3 separate regions of the Homo sapiens genome follow, and regions 2 and 3 are each linked to region 1. Evidence: promoter capture Hi-C in human tissues and cell types (Jung and others, 2019). All regions are on one chromosome and are shown on one strand. The core of a region is centred on a gene start or on the middle of the fragment in contact, and the rest is flanking DNA. Distances in the headings are between cores, read along the strand shown. Region 1 holds the start of SYT8 (synaptotagmin 8). Region 2 holds the start of TNNT3 (troponin T3, fast skeletal type). Region 3 overlaps LINC01150 (long intergenic non-protein coding RNA 1150).

What was found. Contacts are between HindIII fragments. The study calls those that stand out against the background at their distance.
Region 2: the fragment with the promoter of TNNT3 here is called in contact with the fragment with the promoter of SYT8 in region 1 in 2 of the 25 tissues and cell types used here (lymphoblastoid cells and spleen).
Region 3: a fragment that was not itself captured here is called in contact with the fragment with the promoter of SYT8 in region 1 in 11 of the 25 tissues and cell types used here (H1 embryonic stem cells, IMR-90 fibroblasts, aorta and 8 more).

What each region holds. Positions count from the first base shown.
Region 1 is chr11:1,832,871-1,836,239 of GRCh38, forward strand. SYT8 (synaptotagmin 8) reads left to right here and starts at 2,120. Exons shown (of 8, transcript NM_001394072.1): 1 at 2,120-2,329; 2 at 2,426-2,589; 3 at 3,016-3,114; 4 at 3,256-3,369. The coding sequence starts at 2,236. RefSeq lists enhancers at 81-696, 697-1,310. The HindIII fragment of the contact is 28,273 bases long and covers 1-3,369 here.
Region 2 is chr11:1,918,209-1,921,577 of GRCh38, forward strand. It overlaps TNNT3 (troponin T3, fast skeletal type), which reads left to right and starts at 1,495. Exons shown (of 16, transcript NM_006757.4): 1 at 1,495-1,554. The HindIII fragment of the contact is 33,765 bases long and covers 1-3,369 here.
Region 3 is chr11:1,899,121-1,902,489 of GRCh38, forward strand. All of the region lies in intron 1 of LINC01150 (long intergenic non-protein coding RNA 1150), which reads left to right. It also overlaps a transcript of PRR33 not described here. Among named protein-coding and RNA genes, the nearest start is that of LINC01150, 4.0 kb to the left of the region's middle. The HindIII fragment of the contact is 4,546 bases long and covers 1-3,369 here.

The DNA.
Region 1 (3,369 bases), core at 870-3,369:
ACTGTTCTTAGACTAAAGGAGGGGGGACGCCAGCAAAGCGGGGGCACAGGGGAGGGGCGCACGCACACGCACACGCACACATGCCCGCACTCACAGATGGAGATTCTGTATTGGCAACTTATCCGGAATCTCAACCATAAAAATCTGGAGTGAAGCTACTTTAATCTCAGCATGTATACAGGCTCTGACATTTCAAAAAGAGAAGTTGCCTTGAAACTCCACGTAGGGAGGAGGCAGTGGCCTGTTTGAATCTGGCCGGCACAGTCCCGCTCCAGGGACCCTGCGGACCCAGCCCATTCCATCAGCCACCACCAGTAGGAGCGCTCCGCCAGCCACGTGTGGGACGCCGGACCCACCTGGGAGTGTCCCCCAGGAGCTGAGGGGCTGCCGAGGCCCGTGAGCTTCACTGCACACCCACACTGCATCTGCAGGGGACTCACCCAAAGGGTCCCCCGAACTCGACAAGCTCCGTCATTTGTGAGGCCCAGTGCAGAATGAAAATGTGCAGCATCTTGTTCCAAAATTAAGAATTTCAAGATGGCCCCAGCACGCATTAAACCAAGCAGGGACCCCTCTGAGCATGGGGCCCTGCGCACAGGGTGCAGCCTGGAAAGCTGGCCCTGACCTCCGCATCTCCTTTTTGTACCTATAATCCCTCCATTGTGCTGGCCCCTGTGTTCTGGGGACAGGCTGGGCTTCCCAGGCCATGCTGGCCTCCAGAGCCACAAAACTAGAGCTCCCAGCCTCGGTCCACTCGTCTGTAAAACACCTGGCCTGCTGACCTCACAGGGTCAACATGCGTGTGGGGCTGGAACCTGGACCCTCCCTCCCCTCCTTGAGCTGCAGCCCCCTCATCTGAACACTGGGGGTTTGGGTCCGTTCTGGGAGTGCAGCTGCCTCTCCCAGCCTGCCAGGGAGTGGGGCATTGATGCTGTGTGCGCGTGCGTGTGTGTGTGTGTGTGTGTGTGTGTGTGTGTGTGTGTGTGTGTGTGTCTGGAGTCATGGCAGGGTCCCTTTCTGTCTGTCTCCTTGCTCTGCCCCAGACTGGGGGGCTGCAGAGGTGAGGGTATCTGGCCTCAACAGCTGCTTATTCCCGATGGGATGGCCTGGGCTGGGCCCCTGAGGCCAGGCTGACTTGGACATGGCAAGAGGGGTCCCAGGCTCTTGTGGGCAAAGCAGGGGAGGCGCCAATGTGGAGGAACAGAGTCTCCTGGCTGGCTGCTGCTCTCTGGAGCGGGTGGAGTCAGGGAAGAGCTGAGCTGGGGAGTCACCCTGGGCCTGGGGTCACCGTAGGCCCCATGTAGCACCCTGGTTCCCCTGCCTGTAGGTGACAGGAGCCAGCCCAGCCAGGTGTGCTCCCTCCCCAGGCCCTAGGCAGGCGGGTACAGGGGCCAGCAGCTGCGCCCGCCCCACCTTCCTTCCCACCCACATGCCGAAGGGTGGCCAGGCAGGCAGGTGGACGAGTCCAGGCAGCGGCTGAGTCAGTGTGTGTGGAATGTTCTGGCCGCTCCCAGCTGCACCCTGCCCCTACCTGCCACCACCTCACCTTCATCCTCAGGCGCTGCGGCCCTGAGCCCCTGCCAGGAATGCACCTTTAGCCCAGGCCTGCTCAGTGAGCTCCGCCGACAGCCAGCCCTGCTCCTCCCGCCATGACCCTGCAGACCCCTCTGGGCTTCCAAGTTCCTGGGGGCTGCAGTGAACATGCTCCACCTGCATGGCTGGCAAACCATGGTGGGCCCCAGCTGTGGTGCGTGCTGGGGTAGAGGCAAGGAAGTGATGGGACCGCAGAGATGAGACCCCCAGGGATGAGATGGGACCCCCAGGCAGGGCCCAGGGTCCAGGGCCCAGGAGAGAGAAGCAGGGAGGGAGAGAGCTTCCTGGTGGAGGACGCATCCTACAGTGGGGGCAAGGGTGCTCTGAGGTCCGGTGAAGGCAGGGACTAGGCTGCCCAGGCCCTGCCTGCTTGGCTGGGGCTGGGGGCTGCTGGGAGGTGGCTGGGAGGCTGGGCCTGGGCAGCTAAGCTGGAGCTTTGGCCAGGGTCCAGAGCCTCCCTCCCTTCAGCTTCCTGCTGCACAGAACCCTCGCCCCTGGCCACCCCGTGCTGCCTCCTTGCCCTGGCAGACCCAGCACTGGCTGCTGCTAGTCAGATGGGGTAGCGGGCAGGGGCCGGAGGGGCCACCCTCCCAGCTGACCCAGCCTCCTGGGCCGCTTCTTCCAAACCAGCAGGGTAGAAAGATGGGGCACCCACCAGTCTCTCCCAGTGCCCCGGCCCCAGCTGGCACCACAGCTATACCTGGGCTTATTCCAGACCTTGTCGCCGGGACCCCCTGTGAGTTGTGGGATTCCCAAGAGGGGTGTGGGGATAACCCAGCCAAGTGGGGGCTGCAGCTGTCCACAGATGCACTCAGCCTGGCCTCTACCCCAGGGCCCCGCTGGGCTCTCATTGCCGGCGCCCTTGCCGCGGGCGTCCTCCTCGTCTCCTGCCTCCTCTGTGCTGCCTGCTGCTGCTGCCGCCGCCACAGGAAGAAGCCCAGGGACAAGGAGTCCGTGGGTCTGGGCAGTGCCCGCGGCACCACCACCACCCACCTGGTGAGGAGCGGCTCCTTGCTCACTCAGTCCAGAGAGGGCTTGAAATCCAGGCTCCAGAGCCCAGGGCAGCGAGGCGAGTTCAGCCCCAGGGATGGTTTAACCCCCACAGAGGCAGGGCGTTGAGGACCTTCCTGGCAGGGAAAGTGGGTGAACAGAGGTGAGAAGGAGGCCATGCAACAGGGGCTGCCCCATGGGCCCGAGGGAGCCACAGCGGGTTCTTGAGGAAGGCAGGGGGTACCCCAGATGCCACGTTTTGGGTGGGTTTGGCCGGTCTCACAGAGCGAAGCCGACGATTTGTGCCTGTTGGGTGGCCTGGCCTGGAGGCGGGGGGTCTTGACCCATGTCATGCAAGGGCTGCCCGGGAGCCCAGGGCTCTGATGAGGCATGATGTCAGCACCACCTGCCCCTTGTCCCAACTCACTCCAGGTGCAACCTGATGTGGATGGCCTGGAGTCCAGCCCGGGGGATGCTCAGCAATGGGGGTGCCTGCAGCTCTCCCTGGAGTTCGACTTTGGAAGCCAGGAGGTGAAGGGCCCCGCTGCGCAGGACCAGCGGTTCTGCGAGTTTCCGGAAAGGGTGACGGGGGAAGGGCAGACCCCATGCCCTGGGTGGTGGGGAGCTGACAGGGCAGGGGCCCTTGGCTGAGCCCACCCCGCTGGCTCCCAGATCAGGGTGGGCCTGAGGCAGGCAGCCGACCTGAGGCCTGGGGGCACCGTGGACCCCTATGCCCGGGTCAGCGTCTCCACCCAGGCCGGACACAGACATGAGACAAAAGTGCAC
Region 2 (3,369 bases), core at 245-2,744, 85 kb after region 1:
GCAGACGAAGCCACAGACCCAGAGCAGGAGGACGGCGACGTTCCCAGCAACCCCAGCTCCAAGAGCCTTCCCAGTGCCGGGCACTCAGCGGGAGGCAGGCAGGGGACCGGCCCTGTCCTTTGAAATGGCAGCCTGGGGCCAGCCCGCCTTGTCGTGTGACCCCAGGCACACCTTGCCTGTCCCTGGGCTCTGCGGCCTCGCTCTTCCATGGAGGGGTGGAATGAGGTGCCAACCACAGCCTTCCGGAAGGCCCCCGACCCGGCCCCAGGGCACTGTGAGCCCCTGCCGGGTTATCCTGTTGTCCCTGACTCTAAGCCTGGGGAGGACAGGGACCTCATCTGTGCCTCTCGGGACTCACCCCTGTCCTGGGCGCTGGCCAAGAAGGAACCAATCTGTGCCTGAACCGAAGAGTTCCGCAGACACCACCGCCCACGCTCAGCCTGTGGGGTCTGAGGGGAGTGAGGGGGTGGGTCAGGGTGCCAGACTGCTCTCCCCCACCTGGTGCCTCAGTTTCCCTGATCCAAGAGGCAGGGTTATCCAATCTGGTGGCCTCACTGGCCAGCATACAGGCCATCAGAGGCCAGGAAGGATGTCTGCTAGTCGGACGGTGCCACCTGGAGTCCTGAGGAAAGAAAACCAGTCTCCACACGCCACAATGAGCCTGTGGGAGATGCTGGCACAGATGGTAACGGCCACTGCGAGTGCCCAGGGTGGGGCCCCAGGGTTAGAAAGGGCCTAGAGGGAGGACCCAGACCCTTACCCAGCAAACTCCATGTGTAGCCCCCTGCAATGGCAGCAGCCCCGGGGGGAGGTATGGCAGACTCGGACTGCAGCCAGCCTGGCCATGTCCCTCGCCCGCTTATTGTGTAGGCCCCAACGGTGTCTAGCCAGGAAAGCAGAGCTGGCCTCTAAGAGGGTCTCAGATAGGGTGGGGGCCTGGCCTCAGTTCCATGGGGGGTCTCCGAGGCCTCAGGCTGCTTCCTCCCCGGGGGAGACAGCGAAGGGCCTGGGGCATTGGGCCGGGCGGCGGGAGGGGACCCCGGCTGTGCGGACCCTTTTCCTGGACAAATGTTTACTCCCACAGAACATCTCAGAGAGAAGGGGCGGGGGGGTGGGAAACCCGGCAGCCTGGCTCTGGGGACCCCCACACTAGTTTGGCCCAAAGAGAGCCTCGGCTTGGTGCCCCGGGGCCACCCAACACCTTCCTCCTCCCTCCTCAGCCCATCCAGAATGTACCCGCTGCTGGGAGTAAAAATAGCAGCTGACACCTCCTGGAGGCGGAGGGAGGACCTTGCCTCCTTCTCCAAGCACGTCCTCTGCATCCTGGCCTCCTTCAGCCTCCTCCTCTGGCCATTCCTATACTTGGTAAGGGGCCTGCACGGGCATAGCCCCCCCCAGCAAGACTCCGCACACACCCCGGCCACCCAGTCACTGGCCAATGGGCTCCTAGGAAGATCAAATGTCACTATAACACGAGGGTGTGAGCCGGGCGCCAGTGCCTGCAGCCGGTGCTGTCCACAGGGAGCTCCAGCCCTTCTCACACTCGACCCGCAGGTGGGTATAGGCAGGAGCGGCCACCCAGGACTGGGGCCGACGGGGCCTCCTGCGTGCGGGTGGACAGCCCCTCGTTCCAGGGACACTCTGGGGTCCTGGGGCGCTGAGGTCCCAGGTCCGTGTGGTGCCGAGCATCTCGAAGCATCATGGCTCGGAGCCCCCAGGTGGCTGCTCCAGCGTCCGGAGAGTCTGGGATGCGGACATGGTGGTGTGATGGTCTCAGCACCGGGAGGATGCAGAAGAAGGCAGAGTGTGGGAGGCCAGGAGGGGGCAAGTCGGGGCTCAGGGAAGCTCAGTGCTAGGGAGTGGCCTGAGGGCAGGAGGCAGAGAGGTGCGGGCTGTGAGCGGCAGGGAAGAGGCTGTGCAGGGGTGCTGCCAGGGCTTAGGTTGCCAGCTTGTGGTCGCCATGCAGACATTTGCCCAGGCCCGTCCTGGCCTTGCCATGCAGCTCTCGCACCTGGGCCTCCAACACCGCCATTTTGTAGAGATGAAAACGAGGACAGGAGGGCAGGGGCTCCTGTATGGCCAGCCCGAGTGTGTTGGGGTGGGGGCGTCTAAAGCCCACGCAGCCTTGGGGGCCAGCGTCTGGAGGTGCAGGACAGAAGTGGACAGGGGCTGGACTGGGGCAGGACGGGGCAAGAGTGAGGGGCTGGGCTTCATCGCGTCCCCCTGGCTGGAGGCTGGAGAAGCTGGCGCTCGTAAGAGCCCCCACCCACCCTCCCTGCCCTGGACACGGTCCCCCTGACTTGTGCCGTCTGATCAGGCCTTGGCTGCCCCTCCTGAAGTCCACGGAGGGACATGGGGCAAAGCAAAGGTTGGCTGGGTGGAGAACAGGTCTGGGGGCATGGTCAGGGCCACAGCAAGCAAGGGGCAGCGGCTTTTGCCTCCCCACCCTGCCCTGGCCCCGTCACCTCCCAAGGAGGGAAAGGTGATGCATACGTGCCCGAAGAAACTGACCGCATAGGTTATTTTCACGCAGCCCCTCCAAGGCAGGCACTAACTGGACACCTGCTTTGCGTCTCAGCTGTTGAAATGCCATCCCCTGCCCCCAGCACACCCCTGCCCCCAGCACACCCCTGCCACCAGCCCCTCCCCGCAACAGAGGCAATGACACAGGCCATACTGGGGGGAACAGAACAGCCTTGTGTTGCTTCCAGGCGCTCAGCAGAAAACCAGGTGCCTCAGTTTCCCCACTTGGAGAGTGGGCCTTTCCAGCGCACGTCGGGGGGCCTGGAGGTCACCCTGCCTGAGGGTGTTGGGGCACCCATGTGACTCTGGCCTGGGGGGACAGGAGGGAAATATGAGGAGCTGGGGAGGGCCTGGGTGCCCGAGGGTGAGGGGGCAGCTGTGGGCCAAGGAGGGCTGGGCTGTCACACCCGCCTCACCCACGTCTTGGGTTTCTGGGCAGAAACGTCTTGCCTATTTCTGGACACCTCAGCTGCCACTGGCTCCTTATAAATAACCCACCCCAGGCGAGGGCCACGCTGCCCCCATCTTGTGGCAGCCGACAGGTGTCTGCCCCGCCAGCGTCGGGCTGGGCACAGCAGGGCGGGGCCAGGCTCCGCTCCCTCCCTTCACTGACCCTCCTCCTCCTTACAGAGGATGGCCCTAGAGGAGTCTGTGGCGTTTGGGGCCTGAACCAGCTGGGAGGACAGCACGAGGGGCTGGTGGGCAGCCTGGGACTGGGTCACACCGGGGGCCTGGACAACACTGGCTCGTGGGGCTGAGGACTGAGGAGAGCCTGGCCCAGCCGTGGCAGTTACAAGAGGCTTAACCTGAGGGGCAGCAGAGTCTCAGGAAGAGATTCTGGGATAG
Region 3 (3,369 bases), core at 375-2,874, 66 kb after region 1:
ACATAAGAGATCCCTTTTTAGTTCTATTATTCAGAGGCATGACAGTCTCAAGTTCTTGGGAAAAAGCTGTCCATATCTGGGATGCCAGCTGCTTCTGGGGAGAAACTTCCCTGATTAGCTTTACCTTAAAATCTCCAATGGGGCTGCAGTTGCTGGAGTCTGGCGATGCCCTCTTGAGCGGTGAGATAACGAACCCAGGGTTCAAAGTCCTAGAATTTCACTGCAGTGTGGGTGGCAAGGGCAGTCTTTCTGTGATACTCTCAGAAAACCAAATGTCTGGGTTCTAGATTGTGAAGCGTTTGATAGGGTCCTCAGTGGACCATGAAAAGCTTTCTGTACCTGGTGAAAATATACTTAGGCATAATGCATTAAGGCCTAGGAGCCTTTAGCCATATCGGAGTTGAGGAGTGGAAGATACATGAGGTTCTATATAGGACTTCCAGGGACTATTTCATAAGGCACCAACTTATGTTTTCCACTGGAAATGGACCCGACGGCCATCCACCTGCAACACCCTTGACCAAGGCAGCCCAGTTCATTCATTTCCCTTGCTTAATATTATTGTATCTGTAACAAGTTATTAACAGTTTTACCACTTGAGCAGTGAAACAAGTACATCTATCATGGGAGATTTCTCAAGGGACGTCCCATGAGAAAAACAATTTTCTAATAATCTTTTAGCTACTGCTATAACATCAGTGCTCTTGCCTGGGAAAGCTTCTATATAACCAGAAAACACGCATTGAAAATGACAATTGAAGGAAATCCCTCCAGCAATGTTTCAATGGCCCATCAAGTAGCAGAAGTGTAATGGAAGTTTCGATTGTCCTCCCAGGATTATGGGTTTGGCAGACCAAACATTGGTCGTAAACCATTTTAACAACTTACAACGGTCACCATGTCAAATATATATATGTATATTATATATACATATATATATAAAATTTGGATTAATTTGTCTCTTCCATGATGAATCATGGAGTGCAGAGCATTTAATAGTGGAAGCTTCAAGGACACAGGAAGGACCAGGTGGCCATCTTGGCTGTCCATGTGTCCATGCTTGATGCTGGACTTATATCTTCTTAAATACCAATTTTGTTTCTCCAGTTCAGGTGCATAGCACTGTTTATTAGAAGGGTTATCATAGGTAATTTGACTTGGACGATGGATTTAATTCAAATTGGGTATCTAAACAATATCAGTACTGGCTGATTTAGCATGAAAAGCTGGCAAAGTGTTTTCTTGGTATTCAATTAATTTTTGTCCTGCCCAGGTTAGCAATTTTATAAACCAGTCAATCTTTCCATTAGAGTTCCGGGAATTTTTACCCAGTCCAAATGACATTACACTAAAGTTATCAGAAGCCTATTCAAGAGGGCTTATCAGGGTCCTTTCTCTCCTTTCACGAACCTCCTGGAGGACTCAATATTGTAGGACTGTGTGTGTTTGTGAGTTTTCAGAAACGTCAGAAAAAAGCAATTAACTCTGGAAATGACGTAAAATGGTCATGGTTAAAGAAGAACTGACAAGGAATTTTGATTACTTCTGTGGCCTACAATAACTTAACTGTAATTAAGAGTGACAGCATATACCCGGATGTATCAGAATTTTAGGAACCCCATACAATTTTGGAGCATATATTAATGACGTATTCACAAACAATATCTCAAATAAGGTTAAACATCATTTCTTATTTGGCAGTGCTTCCCATGTAATTTAATTTATCAAATACTTCTGTCTCTCTCTTTTTTGGATACTATAGGGGCCCTTAGTAGCTCTCTCCACTGGGAAAGGCTGTTATCGTCTTTGTTTTAAACTATAAACTAAGTTTCTCCCAAAGTTAGTTCAGCCTACTCCCAGGAATAAGCAAGGACAGGAATAAGCAAGGAGGTTAGAAGCAAGATGGAAGGGCCAGGCACGGTGGCTTACGCCTGTAACCCCATCACTTTGGGAGGCCGAGGTGAGCAGATCACAAGGTCAGGAGTTCCAGACCAGCCTGGCCAATATGGTGAAACCTCATCTCTACTAAAAAAAATACAAAATTAGTCGGGCGTTGTGGCAGATGCCTGTAATCCCAGTTACTTGGGAGGCTGAGGCAGGAGAATCGCTTGAACCCAGGAGGCAGAGGTTGTGGTGAGCCAAGTTTACGCCATTGCACTCCAGCCTGGGCGACAAGAGCAAAACACCACCTCTAAAAAAAAAAAAAGGCAAGATGGAGTCAATTAAGTTAGATGTCTCTCACCGTCTCAGTCAAAGAGACAATGCAAAGGTGGTTTCAGCTTTTTCCTAAATATTATCAGATACATGTCATACAGAGAGACATATAGTCATAACAGACACAGATAGAAACAGATCTTACAGATTTCAGAAAGAATTTTCATTTGCCAGCTTTCAAATAGTTTTCTTTTCCCCCTTTAGACTATCAATCTTCTAATTACTTGTTTTATCATCCTAAGCAATCGTTAGCTAGGGAACAATTTGCCTTCAAAAAAGATAACTCTTAGGTGAAACAAGGCAGAAAATGTATATATGAAAAGCTATTTAAGCTGAGACTTTCAGCTTAAATACTGTACCATCATCATTTGCTCAACCAAGAAAAAAGCAAGGCCCAGTGAAGACAACATGGCCAGGAAAAACACGTTAAACAAAGGTAAGACTTGTTACGTAAATTTAAAACAAAGGGATGTCCCTCCCAGACGTTGCAAATGGAAATGTCTTGTGGAGATGTAAATTTCTTTCACAAAATGGTTTCAAGGTAGCCGTTGAATGTCAGAAAGGTGCATTTTAGTTATTAGGCTGGTTGAAAAGTAATTGCAAAAACCACAATTATGGCCGGGCGCGGTGGCTCACGCCTGTAATCCCAGCACTTTGGGAGGCCGAGGCGGGTGGATCATGAGGTCAGGAGATCGAGACCATCCTGGCTAACATGGTGAGATCCCGTCTCTACTAAAAATACAAAAAGTTAGCCGGGCGTGGTGGCGGGCGCCTGTAGTCCCAGCTACTCGGGAGGCTGAGGCAGGAGAATGGTCTGAACCCGGGAGGCGGAGCTTGCAGTGAGCAGAGATCGCGCCACTGCACTCCAGCCTGGGCGACAGAGTGAGACTCTATCTCAAAAAAAAAAAAAAAACACACAATTACTTTCACACCAACCTGTGGATAGGTGGTCCTTCTAATGTGGCTACTGCTTCTTAGCTGAAATTACTGAGTACAGGGTGGGACCCATTAAGGAATAAGGCAAAGAAAGGCTTCCCTCGGCCTGGGCTCAGCGTGGGTGGATCTGAAGTAAAGCCTGCTGGATCTGAGAGACCTTTTAGACACACTTCATCTAGGATAGCTTTCTGTATGGGATAGTAACCAGGCCAAAAGCTC